Regions from separate parts of the Homo sapiens genome. Here all the other regions are linked to region 7. The links are contacts of gene promoters, found by promoter capture Hi-C in blood cells and fetal thymus (Javierre and others, 2016). All regions are on one chromosome and are shown on one strand. Each heading gives the region's core, a stretch centred on a gene start or on the middle of the fragment in contact. The rest is flanking DNA. Distances are from core to core; before and after follow the strand shown.

Region 1 (2,923 bases), core at 143-2,642, 570 kb after region 7:
CAACCTACATGTGAGACCAGGTCAGAATGGAAGTGCTATAAGTATCTTATTTAACCAGTTCATTTATTTGGGTCAAGTTGAACTATTTTCTAGCAATAACCCAGAGATCCTTTCTAGGATATAAATAGAACCTTTTTATTCATTTATCTTTTCATACGTTTATTGAATAAATATTTACTTCACCTCTGCTCTAGGCAGGCATATGAGATGCATTGGTGAGCAAATATTTCTTGGGACCCTGTGTGCACCCCAGGAAATCCCCTTCCCACATGGGGCTTCCATTTTGGTTGGTAGATAAAGCTATAAACAAATACTATAAATAAGTCGGCTGTGCAAGCTGGCTCACACCTGTAATCCCAGCACTTTGGGAGGCCGAGGCTGGTGGATCACCTGAGGTCAGGAGTTCGAGACCAGTCTGGCCAACATGGTAAAACCCCATCTCTCCTGAAAATACAAAAATTAACCAGGCAGAGTGGTGTGCGCCTATAGACCCAGTAACTCGGTAGGCTGAGGCAGGAGAATCACTTGAATCCAGGAGGCAGAGGTTGCAGTGAGCCAAGATCGTGCCGCTGTACTCCAGCCTGGGCGACAGAGTGAGACTCCATCTCAAAATAAAGAAAGGAAAATAAAATAAACAAGTCAATTGTTTAGTATGGCAAAATTGTATAAATGTTATAGAAAAAAAGAAAATGGAGATGAGCATAAGGGAAGTCAGAGTGTGTATTTCCATCTTAAGCAGGGAGGTCAAGATGGTCCTCACTGACAGAGTGACATTTGAGCAAAACTTGATGTGAGAAAATAATCACATGCTTATCTAGGAGAACATTCCAAGCAGAGAGAACAGCCATTGCGAAGGCCTAAAGACCATGTGACTGGTGTGTTCAGATATACCAAGGCCAGTGTAGCTGGAGCAGAAAGAGGGAAGGAGGAGAGGTGGGAAGGGGAACCAGGCCAGTTCATGCACTAAAATATGTCTTGTGACCCTGTCTCCACCCCAGGAAATGCTTGCCCCTGCGTTACCCTTGGTAGCCTTTTCTTGGTTGAGATGGTGGTGCATGCTTTAGTTTCTCAGTAAGAATTTCACACTACTAGGAAGAGCCCCTTGTGTCTTCGGTATAATACTGGGTCATGACTGATATGCTCTTCATTCCCTGTATTATATTTTGCAGGACATTCTAAAGGTTTGGGGGAGAACTGAATTCTAACAGATGGTGCACACTGCTGTTGTGATCACAAAGGCCTGAGGCAGACCACTTCAGTCTAACATGTCATTACCAATTTAATAGAAATATTTCTTGTTGGACTAGTCTCTAACAAATGTACATTGTTTGTGAGAATTGGTCTTACTGAATTCTGAAGGTATTTTTGTCCTTACTGGAGTGACAGCATAATATTTTGACAAATCAATTCAATTAAACAACCTACTGATTAAGTCAGACAGACGAACTGATTTGTTTTCCAGATTATTGATTGCCATCACTGAATTCCATACAATTTATTTGACATAGTAAGAGTATAGATTGTTCACAATCTAGATCCCAAGAGACATTAAATGTTCTTGGTTATAACATTTTTATTCTGTAGATAAGAAAATGGAGGCCCAGAGATCTGTATGAATGTGTATGTGTAGCACTGCCATTCAATTAGCTGTGTGTGTGCATGTGTGTGCATGTAGGTACCTTATGTGTCTGTCTGAAATTTATCTGCTATTCAAAATACTTCTGGGCAGGGCACAGTGGCTCATGCCTGTAACCCCAGTACTTTTGGGTGGATCATGAGGTCAGGAGATTGAGACCATCCTGGCTAACACAGTGAAACCCCGTCTCTACTAAAAGTACAAAAACTTAGCCAGGCATGGTGGCACGTGCCTGTAGTCCCAGCTACTTGGGAGGCTGAGGCAGGATCACTTGAACTCTGGAGGCACAAGCTGCAGTGAGCCAAGATCATACCACTGCACCCCAGCCTGGGTGACAGAATGAGACTCCATCTCAAAAAAAAGTACTTCTGGCCAAGCACAGTGGCTCACGCCTGTAATCCCAACACTTTGGTAGGCTGAAGCAGAAGGATCTCTTGAGCCCAGGAGTTTAAGACCGGCCTGGGCAACATGGAGAAACCCTGTCTCTACAAAAAAATTTAAAAATTAGCCAGGTGTAATGGTGTGCACCTGTGGTCCTGGCTGCTTCAGAGGCTGAAGTAGGAGGATTGCTTGAGCCTGGGAGGTCGAGGCTCCAGTGAACCATGATCATGCCATTGCATTCCAACCTGGGCAACAGAGCAAGACCCTGTCTCAAAGACACAAAAAATACTTCTACCTCCAGAATTCGGAATGGTATTTTTCCATTCTTGTCACAAGTGAATTTCAAAGATTTGCTGGTTATAACATGTTCCTTTTTTTGCCTCAAATATTAAATGACTCAGCAGTCATTGTTCTCTGAGGGTGGGGAATGAAGTGATTTGAGCTGGTGATGAAAAATAGGAGAGAACCAGATGACCTGATAATTCAGTTTCCATGTGCTGCTGGCAAAGACATTTGACCTTCTGAGAAAAGTCAGCCTCCAAAGACTAAATATTGTTAATTTTTAAATATAGTTCTAGAGAATTCTTTTCCTAATCCTTTTACTGTAGTCCTGTTAATGCCTATAGCCCTGGGACAAGTTGTCCAGCACCAGAAGTGGACTTGCACAGAGGAACATATTAGTAATTTCCATCTGGCTCTGTACATGACTTGTAGATTAAACAGCCAATTGGGGCCTCCTTTAGAATACAAAAACTTGGGGAAATTCAACTGTTATATATTCTAGTCATTTTTTACACTTATAATTCCCTCAACTTCAATAGCTTCCAACTGTTATTCATCTTATCTCTGGCTTTCTGGCTTTTCTCTGGCAAATCTTTCATTTTTTTTTTTTTTTGAGACAGAGTC
Region 2 (3,241 bases), core at 304-2,803, 850 kb before region 7:
GCCCCTGTTTCTACACATAATAGCAGCAAATTCACCTATCTTGAGAACCCCCCATGAGCTGGTCACTAATTGGAGTCTATGAGTCCATCAGGACATTAAGGAGAAAGAAGACAGACAGACCCAAGACACTGGTATTTAAATTATGGAGCCCACATCATTCTTGTCCAAACACACAGTTTTTGCTCCAGGAAAAAATACACAGAAAAACTATTTCTGAAGATGCCTGAGAGAATTAAAGAGAAAAATATAGTAAGCCACCTAAGATATGCAGTCACTGGATGGTATTAACAAAACTTGGTGAGCTACAGCTACTCTGCAAGCCACTGTACTTCTTTGGTGGGACAGGGATAGAATATGAGTGAGATGCAGCTGCTGCCCTCAATGAGCTTCCTCTGCAATAAGGAGATGAAATAAAACACTAGGATACAATACAGAAAGTGATGGTGAATGTTATTTGTCAACTTGACTGGGCTACGAGATACCCAGATAGCTGGTAAAATGTTCTTTTCCAGGGTCTGTGAGGGTGTTTCCAGAAGAGATTAGCATTTGAATCAGGGGACTGAGTAAAGAAGACCTACCCTTGCCAATGCAGGTGAGCAATAACCAATTCATTGAGCGCCTCAATAGAATAAGAAGGCAGAGGAAGGGAGAATTCATGAAGATCCATCTTCTCCTGCCCTCAGACATCAGAGTTCCTGGTTCCTGGGCCTTCAGATTCTGGGACTTGCATCACTGACACGCACCCCTCCTATGACTCTCCAGCCTTTGGCCTTGCACTAAATTACATTACCAACTGTCCAGGTTCTCCAGCTTGCAGACAGCACATCATGTGACTTCTTAGCCTCCATAATCACCTGGGCCAATTTCCATAATAAATCTCCATATATATATTGCCTATGGATTCTGTTTCTCTGGAGAACTCTGACAGGCAGACTTGTACCATAAAAGTACTAAGGTGCTTTGAAACTCCCATTAAAAGGGAAGTGCCTGAAAATTTTTTTAGGGTTAATAAAACCTTCAAGGACCAGAGTCCATTTTGTTTTATTTCTAACTACCTTCCTCCTCTGTCTCTTCTTTTTTCTTTTTAGCTTGTTTGTATTGACTAATTTTTCTAGCATAAACTATTTTATTTGTGTAACACAAAACTTATGCAGTTTTAGAAATCATGGTTATAGAATGTTGGAGCCAAAGGAACTCTAGAAATCAAACAACTTAAGCTCCTCAATTTACAGATAAGAAAACAGTGGGCCAGAGAAGTAAAGGTATTCTAAGATTCCACGGGCCAGCAGAATCAGAACAGAGTACAATCAAGGTTTCCAGATTCTAAATCTTGAGCTTCTTCTTTGCAAACTGGAAAATTATTATTGACACCTGGATGGAATGTCCTTTATGACAGCAATTCCAACCATAATAAAAATAATATAAACCTGAATGGAAAATTCCTTCCTATCTAGAATAAAATAAGACACAAAAGCAAAGCAAAGAACGCACAGTTCCTAGCAGGTGAGACCTGCCCTGTCATCCCATGAGATCCTGAGAAAAATCACTGGATTGTTCTGGAGCACAAATTCCTCATCTTTAAAATGAAACAAATAAAAGAGAGAAAAAAGATTATTTATGTAATGACCACTACATCACTGTGTTGTGCTGAGCACTTTACATATGTGTTCACTAGAATCAAAAATGTTAGAACAGTCCCGGCGTGGTGGCTCATGCCTGTATTTCCAGCACTTCGGGAGGCCGGGGCAGGCAGATCACCTGAGGTCAGGAGTTCGAGACCAGCCTGGCCAACATGGTGAAGCCCCATCTCTACTAAAAATACAAAAATTAGCCAAGTGTGATGGTGGGTGCCTGTAATCCCAGCTACTGGGGAGGCTGAGGCAGGAGAATTGCTTGAACCCAGGAAGCAGTGGTTGCAGTGAGCCGAGATCGCGCCACTGCACCCAAGCCTGGGCGACAGAGTGAGACTCCATCTCAAAAAAAAAAAAAAAAAAAAATTAAAAAAAAATAAGGTAATAACAAACAACAATAGCTAATGCTTACCAAATGCTTAAAACATGACTGGCACAGTTCTAAGAACTTTATCAATTCACCTATTTCTCACGATAACCCTACAAGGCAATAGTAGTCTCTTCTTCCCTCTCAATTTTAGATGAGAAAAATGAGACACAAGAGGTTATGTAACTTGTCTGTGATTTCAGAACTAGTAAGCAGAGAGAACCCCCTAAAAGCTGTTTCCAAACAAGAAGCTGATTAATTCTGATACTGTCTTACTGGCTAAACAAATATGCCACCGGTTGCATCCACAATTTGCCAACTGCATGGCATTTTATGATGTTCAAAAGACAAGGAGTTTAAGTACACAGGTTGTTTTTTTGCCAAAGTTAAGACATGAGCAGTATTAACTGTGCACACTTTGCATTTCAGAAAATTGGGTGTATCTTCAACCCCCCGGACCCCTAAACAAGCCGCCCAGGTGAGGCACCGGCACCCTCTTCCCAGGGGCTGATGTCAGACGTTTCTCTATCACTCTCCATTCTCCGCTTGAGCAGCAGCTCTCTGCGTCCGCCTCAACCTTCCCCCATACTTCTCACCTGAACCTGGCCCCACATTTCCCTGGGAAAAGTAAACCTTCTTTTCAAGCAGGAGGAGCTGGAATCCTAAACCTGCTGTCTGTACAAAAGCCACATGACTCTTGGAGCTCTAAGAGTTCTAAGTCCCTCAACAGTCACTAAATATTAGAAGACCATGGTGTGCCACCTGCTCTTACCCGAAGGCAAAACATGATTTGGTCTCGTAGGCAGCTCAACCATTATTTTTAACCTTGGATTTTGATTCTCTCCCCACATGTCATCCCTTATCCTGGCCTCCAAGTGTTGCCTTCTCCAATCCTATAACCAGTCACCTAGATTGACATTGATCATCAATCAGCCCCTAAGTCAAACTTAGGTGTGTTTCTTCTGATCTGCTCCAGGGCCTCGCTACGTCTTCACTGTGTGTGATGTCTCTTCTCCCAGTCCTGCTCCAGTCCATTCCCTCCACCTTTCTCTCAACACTGCAAACAAATCTGCCATCAATGACACCCACAAACCCTCACCCTCTTGTTCTTTCCTCACCCCAAAGGCCCATTAGACTCTTCACCCCTAAATCCCCCTCTTATCAGAGCTCCCACAATGGCAGCTTCAAAACAGACTATGCCACTGCTCAACAAGTATGAAATTGTCAAACTGTTCATCACAAT
Region 3 (3,241 bases), core at 1-2,500, 630 kb after region 7:
GTCCCTCCCTCGACAAGGGGGGATTATGGGGATTACAATTCCACATGAGATTTGGGTGGGGACAAAGCCAAACTCTATCAGCAGCCTCCTAACTGGTCACCCCATCTTAGTCTTCATCCTTCAACAATCCATTCTCCACATTGGAACTGCCATTGTGATTTTTTTTCAAGAGCAATCATGGTATTTCTCTGCTTAAAGCCCCCAGTTGGTTCCCATTTTCTGAGAATATGAGTGCAATCTGAGCAATGTTGCTATGAGACACTTCTTGATCAAGCCACTGCTTGTCTCCTTAGCCTTAATTCTCAGCACCTTCATCCTCTGGAGTCCCCCAGTGGCATTGAATTTCATACAGTTTCCTAACAATCAACACTCTTTTATTTGCCTGTGCTCCTCCACAGAGGCTGTTCCCTGGTCTCGGTTAGGTATCCTTGCTTTTCCCCTATCATAACACTTACCCTACCTTATCCTAATTATCCCTCTAGTTGTCTGCCCATCTTAGAACTTAAGTTTCTTTCATTCCCTTTTTGATTGTTGTATCTCTGTTGCCCAGCAAGAATGCCTGGCCTCTGACAGACACTCAAGACGTAATGGTTGAATACATATATACATAATGCTGGGGAAATATCAAATTTTTACTCTTTCACTACTACCTCTTTATTCCTACTTGTCATTATAATATGTCGTTTTGGGGGATGGGGGTAATGCTCTCAGTCAGTCTATGAAGCTTCCCCTAGATACTTCATTGATTTATGTGATATATGTGAAATTTACTGTATACTTGTGTGTATAAACACACATACACAGAGCTTTGTGATGGTATAAGTGTTCCTTGGTCTCATCAATATGCAGAAAGTAGAAGAGAAATTTGGTTGATATGCATAAAGTAGAAGAGAAATTTGGTTGCTACAGTTTGCAACTATGTAATCATTTCCTCTTTTGGCCTCTTTTCCCGATTTAGATGATATTCCTTGTATTTCTTTTAAGAATATAAAGCAAGAAGCAGCTTATTTACCCATAACAAGGACCTACTGAAGTGCAGAGGAGATCTAAGTTCTGATTGAAAGCACGAAATTGACTAAAAGCCACAAACTAACTTTGTTTTAAAACAGCAGTTACAAAAGTAGGTAAATATGTTTAAAAACAAAAACATATTTAAAAACAAAAACCTATCTTCAAGCACAGCCATTTAAAAATAAAAACACCACCAGATTATTTAAAGCCTTGAGTTAAGGGCTTTAATGGCTATATGTATGGAAACCTTCCCTAACATCTTTATCATATATAAAACAAGCAGCTCCTATTTTAGGAGATGTGTCCTTCCTCCTTCCTTCTCCCGGTGGCAGCACAGGCAGGTAGCCGTTCTCTGAAGCAGCCTTTTGTGTTGTTGGTTTAGAGGCTTTCATTGCCCGCTAACCTTTCTGCTGAATAGATCTGTTTCCCATTGAGCCAGACTCCTGTGTGTGTTCTCTTCCTTGGTATTACATTGAGATAACAGCCAATTCTCTTCTGTTTGAATCATCAGAAGTAGCTTTATTTTTTGTTTATTGGGGTTTTTTTCTTCCTTGCACTTTTGTGATGAGCAGGTCACCATTCTCCTCCATACCACCAAAGGAATAAATAATTTATGTAACCTACCCTGATTTCCAAACAATAAACCTGAATAAAGAGAGTAAGGGACAAGGGTTCTGTTGTAATTTCCATCTCTTACCATTTTTTTCTTTCTTCCTTTCTTTTTTCTTTTTTTTTCTGGAGGGAGTAATATTTCCAGTGAGTCTGTGAAGCTTCCCCAGAGTGTCCCATTGACTTCTCTATGGTAGTTTCATTATTGGGTGAATCAGTTTTTTCTTTGGAGCAGATATGATATTATGAAACAATGTGATAGCTATTCGAAAGAGTGGATCACAATCTTTTTTCTACAGAGAGGAGTGGGACATAGTTCTAATTAGAACAAAGGCTTCTTAATGACTTTCAAGGCTCGTAGTTAAGGGAGACAGGGCAAGATGTCAAGGAATGGTGAGCTAAAAGAATCTACTTGGAAGATGTGGGATCTCTCCCTTCCTCTCCCCCAAGGTTCTATGCCTCTATATTCATAATTACCCTCCAAAAAACTTCAGAGAGGGTGGATAATATAATTCGGTGGTACATACTAGAAATCACCTCTTTCTAATTTAAAAGATAGAATTTATTGGAGGTTTGTAGCAATGCTGCTGATATGGTTTGGCTCTGTGTTCCCACCCAAATCTCACCTTGAAGTGTAATAATCCCCACGAGTCATGGGAAGGACCCGGTGAGAGGTAATTGAATCATGGGGGCAGATTTTTCTCATGCTGTTCTCATGATAGTGAACAAGTCTTACAATATCTGATGGTTTTATAAAGGGGAGTTCCCCTGCACAAGCCCTCTTATCCGCCGCCATGTAAGATGTCCCTTTGCTCTTCCTTTGCCTTCGGCCGTTGATTGTGAGGCCTCCGCAGCCATGAAGAACTGTAAGTCCATTAAACCTCTTTCTTTTATAAATTACCCAGTTTCAGGTATGTCTTTTTTAGCAGCATTAGAATGGACTAATACAGCTTCTTAGTGTGTACTTTGGGTCACTAGCGTTAGGATTCCCAGGGATGTTGGTCCCCAAAAAAATGCAGATCTCTGGGAACCATCTTAGACTCATAGACTCTGAATCTCAGGGATGGATCCTGATAATTTAATGTTTAATAATCTCTCAATGTGACTTCATTGTGCATCACTATTTTTTGAGGGCTACTGGCCAACAGCAGAGCTATGGAAGGAAAGCTGAAGGTTGGATCAGGGCTGCTCTGAGAATTTCAGTATTGGGAACTGTGGCTGGGCTCCTTGGAGTCTATCTTTTGAGGTGAGTCAGCTCACCTCAAGTCAACTGGTGTCAAGTGTCTCAAGGTTCAAGTTCCTAGGAGAGGGGATCAGAGTGACCTGGCTTGATCTCCCCAGGTCAGGAGAGGGGAGGGCTACTTGATCGGCTCTCTCACCATGCTTACAGACAGTGGAGGACGAAGAGGATTTCCCTGAGGAAAATCCAAGTGCTGTTTTCCAGAAAACAAAACAAAACAAAAACAAAACAAAAAAAAAAGAGGGAAATGGATCCTGGGCAGATAAAAACCGCATTTTTTTTTTGCACATACACAGAACTTTATGATACCATTTTTAAAAGTGAACCATGCTCTCCTGTGGTGAAAGCTTAGAAAGTGAAGAATTAACATATTTAAGCTTA
Region 4 (3,349 bases), core at 76-2,575, 680 kb after region 7:
TTGTCTTTTTAGGGACAGGATCCCACTTTGTCTCCCAGGCTAGAGTACAGTGGCTCAGTCATAGCTCACTATAACCTTGTCCTCCTGGGCTCAAGGGATCCTTGTGCCTCAGCCTCTCAGGTAGCTGGGACTACAGGCATGCACCACCATGCCCAGCTAATTTTTTTTTTAAATTTTTTGTAGAGATAGTGTCTTGCTACGTTGCCAAGGCTGGTCTTGAACTCCTGGTCTCAGGCAATCCTCCTGCCTTGGCCTCCCAAAGTTGCTGGTGTTACAGGCTTGAGCCACCACACCCAGATGAAACCTAGTCTGTCTGTCTTTCTTTCTCTTTCTTTCTTCCTTCTTTTCTTTTCCTTTTCTTTTCTTTCTTTCCTTTCCTTCTTTTTCTTTCTCTCTTTCTCTGTCTTTTTTCTTTCTTTCCTTTCTCTTTCTTTCCTTCTTTTCCTTTCTTTCCTTCTCTCTCTCTCTTTCTTTCTCTTTCCCTCCCTCCCTCCCTTCCTTCCTTCCTTCCTTCCTTCCTTCTCTCTCTTTCCCTTTCCCCTTCCCCTCCCCTTTCTTCCCTTTCCTTTCTTTCATCTGGCTCTATCACACAGCCTGGAGTATAGTGGCATAATCTCAGCTCACTGCAGCCTCCACCTCCCAGACTCAAGCCAACCTCTCACCTCAGCCTCCTGAGTAGCTGGGACCAGAGGCGCACACCACCATGCTCAGCTCATTTTTGTACTTTTTGTAGAGATGTAATTCCTCCATATTGCCCAGGCTGGTCTTGAACTCCTGGGCTCAAACTCCTGGGCTCCCAAAGCTGCTGAGATTATAGGCATGAGCCACTGTGCCTAGCTGAAACCTATTTTTTCTTCATGTTGATTCCTACGGTGTTAGTCCTATGCTAACCTGACTCTGTTGTCTTCTATTTTCAAGATAAATCATTAACAGAAGATATGAGCTACTACAGTTATTCAGAGTTAGTGTACAGAAACAGAAAAAAATAAAGCAGTTTTAAAAAGGAAAAAAATGGACTGAATGATTAGGAATAAATAAAACATGCAAATATTACCTTGAGTCAAAATTGGAATTCCAAAATGAATAATTAGTAGATGTAAGGCATTCCTCCAGTGTACTTCATGGCTTGAATTCAAAATCATGTTCCAAGGTAAATAAATCTGCTCCATCTTGTTTATCCAAAGGGCAGTTTGGTGTTGACTTAGTTCTGCTCTTTTTTGGTAACTTATTCAAGAAAAGCAAAGAGCAGAAAATTCGTGGTGTTTTAATCCAGGGAGAAGGAGCGGGTGGAAGTAAACAGAGTTCCTCCTTCATCAGACTTCGTCAGAACTGCTATGCCCTCTGACTGCATTAGATTAAATACTGCAAATAAATTGGATCCCATTTGGTACTTAATAAGCACAGCTCACTTGGAAGAAGTTTTACTTCAAGATATCTTCACTTTTCTTTGGAATATGACAGTTTACCCCTCTGACCACATGAACCTCTTCAAAATTTTATTTATGCTCCTTCATGTTAATTCAGAAAGTAGAAAGTAATAATTTTTTTGAGACAGGGTCTCACTCTGTTGCCCAAGTTGGAGTACAGTGGTGTGATCAGGGCTCACTGCAGACTTGACCTTCTGGGCTCAAGCAATCCTCCCGCTTCAGCCCTCCGAGTAGCTGGGACTACAGGCATGTGCCACCATGCCCAGCAATTTTTTGTATTTTTGGTAGAGACGGGTTTTTTTGCCATGTTGCCCTTGCTGGTCTTGAACTCCTGGACTCAAGTGATCCGCCCACCTCAACCTCCCAAAGTGCTGGGATTACAGGCGTGAGTCACTGCACCTAGTGAAAGTAATGATTTTTTTTTAAGCATTCCCATAGGCCACCCTTCCTTGAAGACTGATAAGTCAAATTTCCATGATATTAAAGAATGGTATCCTAGAACATTCCAGATTGGTTTTCATTCTGTTTGACTTAAAGATTTGAAATATGTTCTGATGTTATTCCAGAGCACCTGTGGATTTGAGGGTCCAAGAAAAGTGACCACAAAAGAGCATACCTATTAATTATATAAAGAACATGTTTTTTGTAAGTATATCCATTATATTTTCATAATAAAAATAACATGATTTTATTTCTATTTATTTCTTCAGCCTCCAAAAATATCAGATATACCTAAATGCTCTTTTGTAGAAATATGCACATCTGGAAATCCTAAGTTGCCCGGTCATTTTTGTTTGTTTGTTTGTTTTTATTTGTTTTGAGACGGAGTCTCCCTCTGCCACCTAGGCTGGAGGGCAGTGGAGTGATCTCGGCTCACTGCAACCTCCACCTGCTGGACTCAAGCGAGTCTCCTGCCTCAGCCTCCTGAGTAGGTGGGATTACAGGCGCATGCTACCGTGCCCAGCTAATTTTTGTATTTTTAGTAGAGACGGAGTTTCTCCACGAAACCAGGCTGGTCTCAAACTCCTGACCTCAAACAGTCTGCCCACCTCGGCCTCCCAAAGTGCTGGGATTACAGGTGAGGCATGAGCCTCCACGCCCAGCCCCAGTCATGTTTTCAATGACCACATTTATACCCTGTATTCTGCTGAAGACAGAAATTTAAGGCAGTATCCGACTAACCTCTTCTTACAGATGAGCAGGGTTTGGCACACTAGAGCCTCTGGAGCTAGGACTGAGGGTTGGGGGGTGTCCTGGCAGGGCTAGTTCAAGACTTCAGGGCAAGGGGAAGTTTTGTCAAATGCCTGAGGAAAGGCAGAGTGGAAGTTGAAGACATATCAGAAGTGTCAAATTCTTGAAGCAGATAGGATATGAGAAGATGGGCTGCCTTAGGGGTAAGTGGTGAGCTTTTGTAGCCAGTTCTGGAAAGAGGACCTGAAAAGATCCAACCTCTATGCAGTGCTCTAAGAATCTTAGAAGTCATCAAATGCTGGGTTTCGTGGTAGAAATTCAAGAGCTGCCAGAATTCAAGGGTCAAGACTGAACAATGATGAACCATGCAGAGAAAAGAGGAGAATTTACATGGCCCTAAAACAATAATTTGCTACCTTGGCCACACATTAGAATCATCTGGGGAACTTTAAAAAATCCACATGCTCAACCAAGTTGCATCCCAGACCAATTAAGTTGGAATCTCATAGGGTGGGATTCAATAGTTGGTATAACTTAAAGCTCCCTGTGATTCCACTTTGCAGCAAGGCTGAGAAAGACTGGTTTAAAGCAAGAAGGAATGCTTACCTGGGTACTTTTGGCCTGGTTTATCCACTTAGGTATCATACTCATTATATTCATAGTTAGAATAATTCACTGTTCTATAAGTATAACCACTATTATACTTAAGTATAAATATACTTAAATTGCAC
Region 5 (3,248 bases), core at 490-2,989, 640 kb after region 7:
TACTAGGTATTGCTGTTATCACTGTGGCTTGTTACCAGTATTCATATTTTAAAGCAATGCTAAGTTTCAGTCAGAAGTTACTGAAAATAAAGATGTAAATTTGTTCACATTCAAGTTCATGACCCTACCTATTAATCGACCCCATAGGGTCCACGATCTCCAAGTTAAGGAGACCTAATAAATGAAATGTGCAGATAGTCTATGAATAAGTTAAAATTCAAGGCAAATATGTAAACTAATATAGGCATACTTTAAAAATCAAGCCATAGGCCAGGTGTGGTGCCTCACGCCTGTAATCCCAGCACTTTGGGAGGCTGAGGTGGGTAGATCACTAGAGGTCAGGAGTTCAAGACCGGCCTAGCCAACATAGTGAAACCCCGTCTCTACTAAAAACACAAAAATTAACCAGGCATGGTGGCTTGTGGCTGTAATCCCAGCTACTCAGGAGGCTGAGGCACGAGAATCACTTAAATATGGGAGGCAGAGGTTGCAGTGAGCTGAGATCACACCACTGCACTCCAGCCTGTTTGACACAGCGAGACTCTTTCTCAAAAAAAAAATCAAGTCACAAATATAAATTCTGACATTTTTCCCTTTAACATTTTACAGTGACATTAATGAAAGGAGCTTGGAATACTCCAAAGAGTCATGGAAAAGGAGAAGGGAGTGTTAGTGATTTGACATCTGTATTAGCTAGGGCTGGTGTAACAAAAGCACCAAAAAATGGTGTGGTTTAATACAACAGAAATTTACTGTCTCACAGCTCTGAAGCCTGGAAATTCAAAAACAGGGCCAGGCGCAGTGGCTCACGCCTGTAATCCCAGCACTTTGGGAGGCCAAGGTGGACAGATCACCTGAGCCCAAGAGTTTAAGACCAGCCTAGGCAACATAACAAAACCCCATTCCTACAAAAAATACAAAAATCGGCTGGGCACGATGGCACGCCCTGTAGTCTCAGCTACTTAAGAGGCTGAGTTGGGAGGATTGCTTGAGCCCAGGAATTTGAGGCTGCACTGAGCTATGATCATGACACTGCACTCCAGCCTGGGTGACAAAGTGAGACCCTATCTCAAAAACAAAACAAAACAAAAAAACAGAGGTGTTACTGGGGCTGTGCTATTGCTGATGATTGTAGGGGAGGATTCTCCCTTGCCTACTCCAGCTTCTGGTGTTTGCTGACAGTCCTGGCAATGCTCAGCTCCTAGCTGTATCACTCCAATCACGTGCTGTCTTCTCCTGTATCTTTACATCATCTTCCCTCTGTGCAGGTCTGTCTCTGTGTCCAACTTTCCTCTTTTTATAAGGACACCAGTCATATTGGATTAAGGCCCACCCTAGTGACCTCATTTGAACCTGATTACCTCTGTAAAGACCTTAATTTCTAAATCAGGCCACATTCTGAGGTCCTAAGGCCTAGAATTTCAACACAGCTTTTTGTGGGGTCATAACTCAAACCCATAACAACATCAGAACATTGTAATTCAAAGGAACACAAATTCAGGTTTACTTTGAAACTAAATATTTCTAGAATTAAATTTGTCCAGAGTTACATGGTCTAGTCTTACTTTCATACAACTCTCTTCTAACACACTGTGTTTGTGCTGGATATCCCTTTATGAGTTTTAAGAACTCTGAAATGTGAAAAGTACAAATAAGTAATCTCTTGCATTCCTATTTTAGTCAAAAGATCAGGCTCCAAATTGCTTTATTCATCTTTGAGTAGTATTGCAGAAAATTTTAACTGAAAATTATATTCAAAATACTGTTTTCAATTTCCTAATGGAACTGTAACCAATTAGTCAACCACAATTATTGAACAACCATGAGTACTGTATTCCCTGAGGAGAAAAAACATAGTTTTTAGGCAACTATAGCAAGATGCAGCAAATGAGATTTATACACACACACACACACACACACACACACAGAGATACCCAGTAGATGCAGAATCAAGGCACTCTTTTATTTAAAAAATCCTTTTCTCTGCCAGGCGCGGTGCCTCACACCTATAATCCCAGCACTTTGGGGGGCCAAGGTGGGCAGATCACTTGAGGTCAGGAGATCGAGACCAGCCTGGTCAACACGGTGAAACCCTGTCTCTGCTAAAAATACAAAAATCAGCCGGGCATGGCAGCACATGCCTGTCCTCCCAGCTACTCAGGAGGTTGAAGTGGGAGAATTGCTTTAACCCAGGAGGCAGAGATTACAGTGAGCCAAGATGGCATCACTGCACTCCAGCCTGGGCGACAGAGCAAGACTCCATCTCAAAACAAAGAAAAGTAAAGTAAAAAAATTTTTCTCCAGTTTTGTGTCTATTTTAATTTTTCTTCTGATTTTGAACTGATTAAAAATTTCATATCTGCAACTTTAGTTGTAATATCAAGTTTTGCTTTTTTAAAATCAAATGCTGGTTAATACTGCCTCTACCCCCGACCCCCTCCCCAGCAAAAAAATCCAGAATCATTCAAAATCAATCTTACGAAGTTGTCTTCATTTTTTTTTCTTGTTTTTTTGTTTTGTTTTTTTTTTTTTTTGAGATGGGGTCTCACTCTGTTGCCCAGGCTGGAGTGCAGTGGCGTGATCTCGGCTCACTGCAAGCTCCGCCTCCCGGGTTCATGCCATTCTCCTGCCTCAGCCTCACGAGTAGCTGGGACTACAGGTGCCTGACACCACACCCAGCTAATTTTTTGTATTTTTAGTAGAGATGGAGTTTCACCCAGTTAGCCAGGATGGTCTTAATCTCCTGACCTCGTGATCTGCCCGTCTCAGCCTCTCAAAGTGCTGGGATTACAGGCATGAGCCACCGCGCCCGGCCAAAGTTGTCTTCATTTTGAGTAAGATTTTTAAAAATGTAAAATACTTACCACAGAGAACATTTTCAGCAAATGGTAGCTATTATAATTGTAGATGCTGGATGGATGGATGGCACAGAGTTATCAGTGGCTTAAGCCCCTGCTGATAGCACTGATATTTACGTGACGTTTAGCTGTGTGGCCCCCTTTAGTTGTTCTATCCTTTATAAAATTTTACTCCAAAATATGTTTTTTGAGGAGTCCTGGAACATTATTATTTTTAAAATAAGTAGGAACCATAATTCCAAAGAATTCTTAGACACATAAGGGCAACATATGGTCCTTTAAAAATATATAGATGAGCAATTCTTTTAGAGTAGGTTGAAAGAGACTGAAAGAAAAAAATCCAGATGCCATTTGATTTCAGTGAGAGAAGAGTCTAAAAAGCACTCCTTT
Region 6 (2,961 bases), core at 118-2,617, 660 kb after region 7:
AACAGCCTGGCCAGCATAGTAAGACGTCATCTCTGCAAATAATAATTAAAAGTTAGTCAAGTATGGTGGTGCACGCCTTTGTTCCCAGCCGCTCAGGGGGCTGAGATAGAAGGCTCGCTTGAGCCCAGGTTGGGAAGGCTGCAGTGAGCCATGATCACGCCACTGCAATCCAGCCTGCGTGATAGAGCAAGGCCCCATCTCAAACCAAAAGAAAATTAAAAAAAAGGGAGAAAAAAGAAACACAATCCAGGGCCACGTGTCTCAGATGTCACTTACTTCTCTTCATAAGAGCCAGTACTGAATTCTTAGAAGCTGTGCAACCCGTATGAAGGCAACCCATATGAAGGTTTTCATTTTCTGCTACTTTTTCAGTTATCCTGGAAAAAATACTGAGAGGCAACACCTGTTAAGGCAGGCTGTCCTTGGGGGTGCGTGTCCAGCGCTGCCCTTGACTAGTTGTGGCACTAGTTACTTATCTTCATGAAGTCTGTTTTCCAGTCCGTTCAGTGGGGGAGCGTTAAACCTGTCCTACCCACCTCAGACAATGAATTGCAAAGAAAATGATGTCTGTGTAAGAGTTTTGACATTATGCAACATTATATGAGATTAAAATTTATTCAAGATCTAGAAAAACCGCCAGTGTTTTTATTTTTTATTAGTATTGCTTGTTGAGACAGAGTCTTGCTCTGTCATCCAGGCTGGAGTGCAGTAGCACAGTCACAGCTCGCTGCAGCCTCAAACTTCCAGGCTCCATCGATCCTCCTACCTCACCCTCCTGAGTAGCTAGAACTACAAGCTTGCACCCCCACATCCTTCTAATGTTTTAATCTTTTGTAGAGATAGGGTTGCATTATGTTGCCCAGGCTGGTCTCAAACTCTTGGGTTCAAGCGAGCCTCCTGACTCAGCCTCCCAAAGTGCTAGGATTATAGGTGTGAGCCACTTCACCCGGCCTAATCAGTGTTTTCATACGTAGAATTGCAAGTCATGGTGGCAGTGGACAAGTTTATTTCTCAATACACAATGGGCAAGTATATTATCTCAAATGAGGAAATGAACTATGTTTATACCACCTAAGAGTTGTGGAGCTTAAAAAAAGTATTCAGCACATTTAAGAAAGGTATTAAATACATTTTGTTTCAAATATTGCATTGAAAACATTGTTTGTTTCCCCAAATTTCCAGGTGAAGGATAAGCCTGTGCTCTTTTTCACTCCATTTTTTTTTCCCAATGTAACCTAAACCTGTTAATATCTATATTCAGCAAAGCTGCCCTGGTTGCCTGGCAACCAGGCTTCGTGGGCTAGGGAAACACCAAGGCAAGGAACCAAAGGCAGCGAACACAACCTTGACTTTGCCTGCCGCTGCACAGGCGATCATCCTCTCTGTATTCTGTATAAAGCTCTATTTCCAAAACATAAGTAAATCTTGCAAGAATGTTAGCTCGATGCTATTAGGAGTTTAAAACTTACGGTTTGTGGGATAACATTTCAACATAATTAAATAAGCATGAAGAAATCTCTCTCTCTGCTCTTCCTTAATTAAAACAGGGGCGGTCCCTTTCCTCACAGGTCATGCTGTACATTTCAATCCCACTTTTTATTTCCTCTGCAGAAAGATGTGTGCATTATTCTTGGAATAAGATGTAATGGAAATTGAAATGTCAACTTTGAGAAATAGAAGTTTAGGACTCATTACTGCCAAACATATATTTTTGTGTCTTATACAAGGAAGTAAAAAGAAGAATGAATGAAAATGATTTTTCTTATTCCAATTCTTCCATGTTTCCACCTTTATCTCATTCCCTTTCTTATATTCTCCCCTGTGGGAACTTCATCACTTTAAAAATTAAGAACAAGGAAAGCCTTTGGGTTACAGGAAATAAATGTCGTCTACTTCATGGACAGTAAATGCTATGAGGCTGAGACAGAATTTGGAATTTAAAGCTTACATTATCTATTGTTTTATTATGTCACTTGTTTCATAAGGCAGCTTTTATTGGTTAAGTTCAATATTCAGAGGAAAAGTAAACTGAAGGACCCTGAAGCAGATCCTTTTTGAAATAAGATTGGAGAATAATATAAGGTAAAACATGTAACTGGGGCTGTTGAAGTGGAGATTTGGCTAAGTATGACAAAAATGAGAACAGAATACAGAGAAAATTAACTCAATAATATCTCAGCACAAATCCTCGAAATCTGCAATGAACGTATCTTTTGATTCCTAAGTCATGAAAGAAGACAGTCTTTCATTATTACTTTGCCATGTAATAGCCATTTATATCAATTTCACATTCTACTTTCTTCTATCCTTATTCCATAGCTGGTGTGAGTTAGTTTTCAAGACAAACTGGAAGTCCCAATTTTAAGTAACACCTCCTAATTTGTAAGTGTTGGCTTCAGTAAAAATTAACAACCTCACTCTGTAGGTCAAACAGAACCCATCTGGAAGCCAGGTTATGCTCATGGTTGACATTTGTGACCCCAGGTATAGGGGGAGAAGAAGGGTAACTGAGGAATTCTCACGTGTTAAGAGGCTGCATATAAAAATGATAAGTGTTGGGAGGCCGAGGTGGGAGGATCGCTTGAGCCCAGGAGTTGGAGGCTGCAGTGAGCTATGATTGTGCCACTGTACTCCAGCCTGGACAGCAGACCGAGACCCCATCTCTAAAAAAAGGAAAAGTAAAGTGATAAGTTGTCAAGGAGGTCAGACAAGAAACAGGGTCCTGCTTCACACTTTGATAAGTAAGGGTGCAGAACATTTCAGGAGGAAGAGAAGAGACAGCCAGGGGGCCAAAACAGAATTCAGCAAGCAGGCATTTAATTGTGATCTTGGGAGAGGAGTTTCAAGAGGATGGTGGAAGTCAGGCACAGATGCAGTGAGTTATAAGGAGCGTGTGGGTGATGAAAGTAGAAACAAGCAAATATAGCCTCCTTCTAGAAGGAGGAAGTATGGCCACAATCA
Region 7 (3,061 bases), core at 287-2,786:
TTAGACAATGTTGCCATGTATACCTTTGTTCATGTTTTAAAAGAATGTCTTTAGGATTAATTTGCCGAAATGGAATTGCTGGGTCCTAAGGTTTTAAAAATTTTTTTACATGCTTCCAAATATTTCCCTTAGGAAGATTATACAGTATTTACACTTCATCCAACAGTATGTGAGTGTCTGACTCCTCACATCCCTGATTCTTTGCAATTTTTTTCTTTTTTTGAGACGGAGTTTCGCTCCCGGGTTCAAACGATTCCCAGCCTCAGCCTCCCGAATAGCTGGGATTACAAGCGCGCACCACCACGCCCGGCTAATTTTTTGTACTTTTAGTAGAGACGGGGTTTCACCATGGCCAGGCTGGTCTTGAACTCCTGACCTCAGGTGATCTGCCGGCCTCGGCCTCCCAGAGTGCTGGGATTACAGGCGTGAGCCACCGCGCCCGGCCGATTCTTTGTAATTTTTACCTAAATGACAAAACATTATCTAACTGCTACTTTAATTTGCACATTTCACTTTTAGAGGTGGGACTTCATTTTTAATGAATTTTTAAGCACTCTTTGATTACTATGTATTAATCCTGTGTTGACATGTCAATATTAGTTTCCACGCTACATTTGGAGATGCCGTAATTTGCGGGATAATTTCCATTTACGTACAAGATGTGCTTACTAAGTTTGTTCCAAGTGGGACGCAACATCTCTAGTAGATGCTCCTTAAAACTTCTCCATCACACAGAGAATAATTTTTATTGGTTAACTAAACTTATAAGTAAAATAAATAAACCAACATTTTGGGTTGCTAGGAATCACTCACTGATCAACTTTTAGCTCCAGTTTTTTTCTGTTTTCTTTTTTTTGCTCAGTCTAGGGAGGCTATCTTGGGCTGTGAAAGACATGTCACCAACCATCACAGCTGCTGAGTGATTGCACGGTTAGTCAGTAGGTGCCAACGCCCTGCTAGAAGAGCTGTCTGCAGATTCCAAAGCCGGGCGTTCAGGGACTCCCGGGAAGGAGCCAGCGTTACCTCAGCCTCTCCGAGGGACACGCGCGCCCTGAACACTCCCCTCTTGGGATTCAGGCCAATTCGTTCAGCTCCCATGACTTCATCCGAGCAAGTTTGTCACCTCACGCAGCTAATTAAACTGTTTACCTAGAAGATGATCCAAAGGAATTTCCATTTCCTTCCAGAGGGAATACAAGGTTATGATAACCGAGAGAGCGAGAGGAAAAAAGGCGCACAGCTCGACCCGAACTCAACCTGCTTTCTTTCTCCTGGCTCTCCCAGTCACTCCTGGGGTTGTTAGTAGGCTTCAGCACGCCTGAAGGACCCCGTCCTACGGAGACTCCTAGCCAAGGGAAAAGCAGAAAACACAAGAACTAATTCCACTCTTATGTGTGACTAATTAAAAGAGGAGTCAGGCAGAGGGGACTCCCTGTTCAGCCTTTACCGATGGGGCAGGCTCGGGGCAGCTTTGAGACAGGCAGCGCCAAGGTCGCCCAGATTCCCGACAAGCTCCGCGCGGGGGCTTCCTCGGCTCCTTGCTGTTGCCGCCGCCGCAGCTGCTGCCGCGGTTGGTGGGGTTGGGTGAGAGGAGGAGCTGTCGCGGACCCTGTAGAGTCGGTCTCTGTTGCTCTTTTTGCCTGAGGAGTCTTCCATCCTACGTCGAGCTCTGACTCCCGTGCTGTCGAGAGGGAGTCCCCGGGGACACCTCGGCACGCAGCGGAGATGCCTCTTTTTGCCACCAATCCCTTCGATCAGGATGTTGGTAAGTGTTTTTGCCTCTCCCTGCCCATTCCTCACCGGACTGCACGCTCACTCTGCCAGCCCCTGCCTGCATTCAGGACCCTCGGGCCAGGGCCAAGGAAGAGCTCGCTCTTCCCCTTTCCTGAGGCTCCCTCCTTCAGAGCTGGGAGGAGGTTGAGGGCTTGGCGCATCCTCTTTGAAAGAAATGGGACTCATCCTGTGAAATGGGCCTTGAGCTAGGACTGTAGGTTGCCAAAGAACTGCTGAATGGGTTGGTGTAAAGGGCCTGGGAGGAGCAGCTGGTGTAGCATCTGGTGCAGGGACTGTGCTTCTGGAAGAACAGCGAAGGGCTTAAGGCGTATGTTGGCTAGATTAGGATTGTAAACCCTGTACCAAAAGTGCTTGCCTAGACAAATAAATGTTGAGCGTCTGGAACTGGCAGAATGTTTTAGGTAAGGTTCCTTAGAGGATTTTAAAATCTTTTGTAACGGTAACTGAAGGAGGGAGCTCTGGTTAAGGGTAGACTCTCAAACATGTTAGGAGCGATGAAGATGAAATACTTGGCAACGACTGAAACCGAATTGAGGACCTGAGCCTTTGGGATGTCTCTCTTAGGCTAGGTCTCTGCACTTTAAAAGGTGTAAAGAAGTGTGGAAGAAGTTGTTGAATCTGGAAAGAGTTTGAAATGCTACATTTTTGTTGTTTTCTGAATCACTGGTATTAGGTACTGATGATGTCAATTCAATAGGTTTGCTTTTGGTTTTTAATTTTATTTTATTTTATTTTTTTCTGACTTGAAGATAATAATTATGGGAATTTGAGTTTCCGGGGAGAGAATTTTGGTTTAATTTGAACGCACGTAGGAACTACCTTGGCACACAAGTGTGGAATGAAAGCAAGCCAAATACCATTTCCAAATCCCTTATGGCAGAATGTAATCATTACTGTGAATAAGGACAACCTTATGAATTTACTTGTCTTTGTGTATTTTAATTATGAAAGGTGGATGTTGAATTTTTCTTTTTAAACTCTTCCTTAGAGCATGTCACTGAAACTTGGAAGTTTATATAAGAGTAGAAAAAAGTTCACTCCTTACCTCTGCCACTTCTCAGCTCACGGTGAAATCATAGGCAAGTTAAATTCTTTGAGTTCCAGTGTTCTTGTCTTTAAAGAGGGGAAAACACATCATTCCATTCTGCAGTTAAATAATATGTCTAGAGGGCCTGCTACAGTACCTTTATGTGGTTGGCACTTACTAGATGCTACCTTTTTTGTTCCACCTTAAATGAGTGTCCTGAATCTTAGCAGTGGACAGAAC

What was found. Contacts are between HindIII fragments. The CHiCAGO score rates a contact against its expected background, and 5 or more counts as called.
Region 1: a contact is called between a fragment that was not itself captured here and the fragment with the promoter of STAM in region 7, in 4 of 17 cell types (fetal thymus, M1 macrophages, M0 macrophages and 1 more). The highest score is 10.4, in fetal thymus.
Region 2: a fragment that was not itself captured here is called in contact with the fragment with the promoter of STAM in region 7 in 5 of 17 cell types (neutrophils, naive CD8 T cells, naive CD4 T cells and 2 more); the score reaches 8.4 in neutrophils.
Region 3: a fragment that was not itself captured here is called in contact with the fragment with the promoter of STAM in region 7 in 1 of 17 cell types (monocytes); the score reaches 6.5 in monocytes.
Region 4: a fragment that was not itself captured here is called in contact with the fragment with the promoter of STAM in region 7 in 1 of 17 cell types (monocytes); the score reaches 5.2 in monocytes.
Region 5: a fragment that was not itself captured here is called in contact with the fragment with the promoter of STAM in region 7 in 1 of 17 cell types (monocytes); the score reaches 6.1 in monocytes.
Region 6: a fragment that was not itself captured here is called in contact with the fragment with the promoter of STAM in region 7 in 1 of 17 cell types (monocytes); the score reaches 11.1 in monocytes.

The regions. Positions count from the first base shown.
Region 1 is chr10:18,216,876-18,219,798 of GRCh38, forward strand. All of the region lies in intron 2 of CACNB2 (calcium voltage-gated channel auxiliary subunit beta 2), which reads left to right. Among named protein-coding and RNA genes, the nearest start is that of CACNB2-AS2, 43 kb to the right of the region's middle. The HindIII fragment of the contact is 3,237 bases long and covers 1-2,923 here.
Region 2 is chr10:16,793,378-16,796,618 of GRCh38, forward strand. The region is part of intron 2 of RSU1 (Ras suppressor protein 1); the gene reads right to left. Among named protein-coding and RNA genes, the nearest start is that of RSU1, 22 kb to the right of the region's middle. RefSeq lists enhancers at 2,090-2,309, 2,520-2,579. The HindIII fragment of the contact is 3,505 bases long and covers 1-3,241 here.
Region 3 is chr10:18,270,300-18,273,540 of GRCh38, forward strand. All of the region lies in intron 2 of CACNB2 (calcium voltage-gated channel auxiliary subunit beta 2), which reads left to right. Among named protein-coding and RNA genes, the nearest start is that of CACNB2-AS2, 10 kb to the left of the region's middle. The HindIII fragment of the contact is 1,057 bases long and covers 723-1,779 here.
Region 4 is chr10:18,325,197-18,328,545 of GRCh38, forward strand. All of the region lies in intron 2 of CACNB2 (calcium voltage-gated channel auxiliary subunit beta 2), which reads left to right. Among named protein-coding and RNA genes, the nearest start is that of CACNB2-AS2, 65 kb to the left of the region's middle. The HindIII fragment of the contact is 4,487 bases long and covers 1-3,349 here.
Region 5 is chr10:18,286,779-18,290,026 of GRCh38, forward strand. All of the region lies in intron 2 of CACNB2 (calcium voltage-gated channel auxiliary subunit beta 2), which reads left to right. Among named protein-coding and RNA genes, the nearest start is that of CACNB2-AS2, 27 kb to the left of the region's middle. The HindIII fragment of the contact is 5,609 bases long and covers 1-3,248 here.
Region 6 is chr10:18,303,304-18,306,264 of GRCh38, forward strand. The region is part of intron 2 of CACNB2 (calcium voltage-gated channel auxiliary subunit beta 2); the gene reads left to right. Among named protein-coding and RNA genes, the nearest start is that of CACNB2-AS2, 43 kb to the left of the region's middle. The HindIII fragment of the contact is 1,147 bases long and covers 795-1,941 here.
Region 7 is chr10:17,642,615-17,645,675 of GRCh38, forward strand. STAM (signal transducing adaptor molecule) reads left to right here and starts at 1,537. Exons shown (of 14, transcript NM_003473.4): 1 at 1,537-1,765. The coding sequence starts at 1,726. STAM-DT (STAM divergent transcript) reads right to left here and starts at 1,304. Exons shown (of 1, transcript NR_110370.1): 1 at 1-1,304. RefSeq lists enhancers at 491-1,139, 1,140-1,789, 1,212-1,281, 1,432-1,551. The HindIII fragment of the contact is 8,791 bases long and covers 1-3,061 here.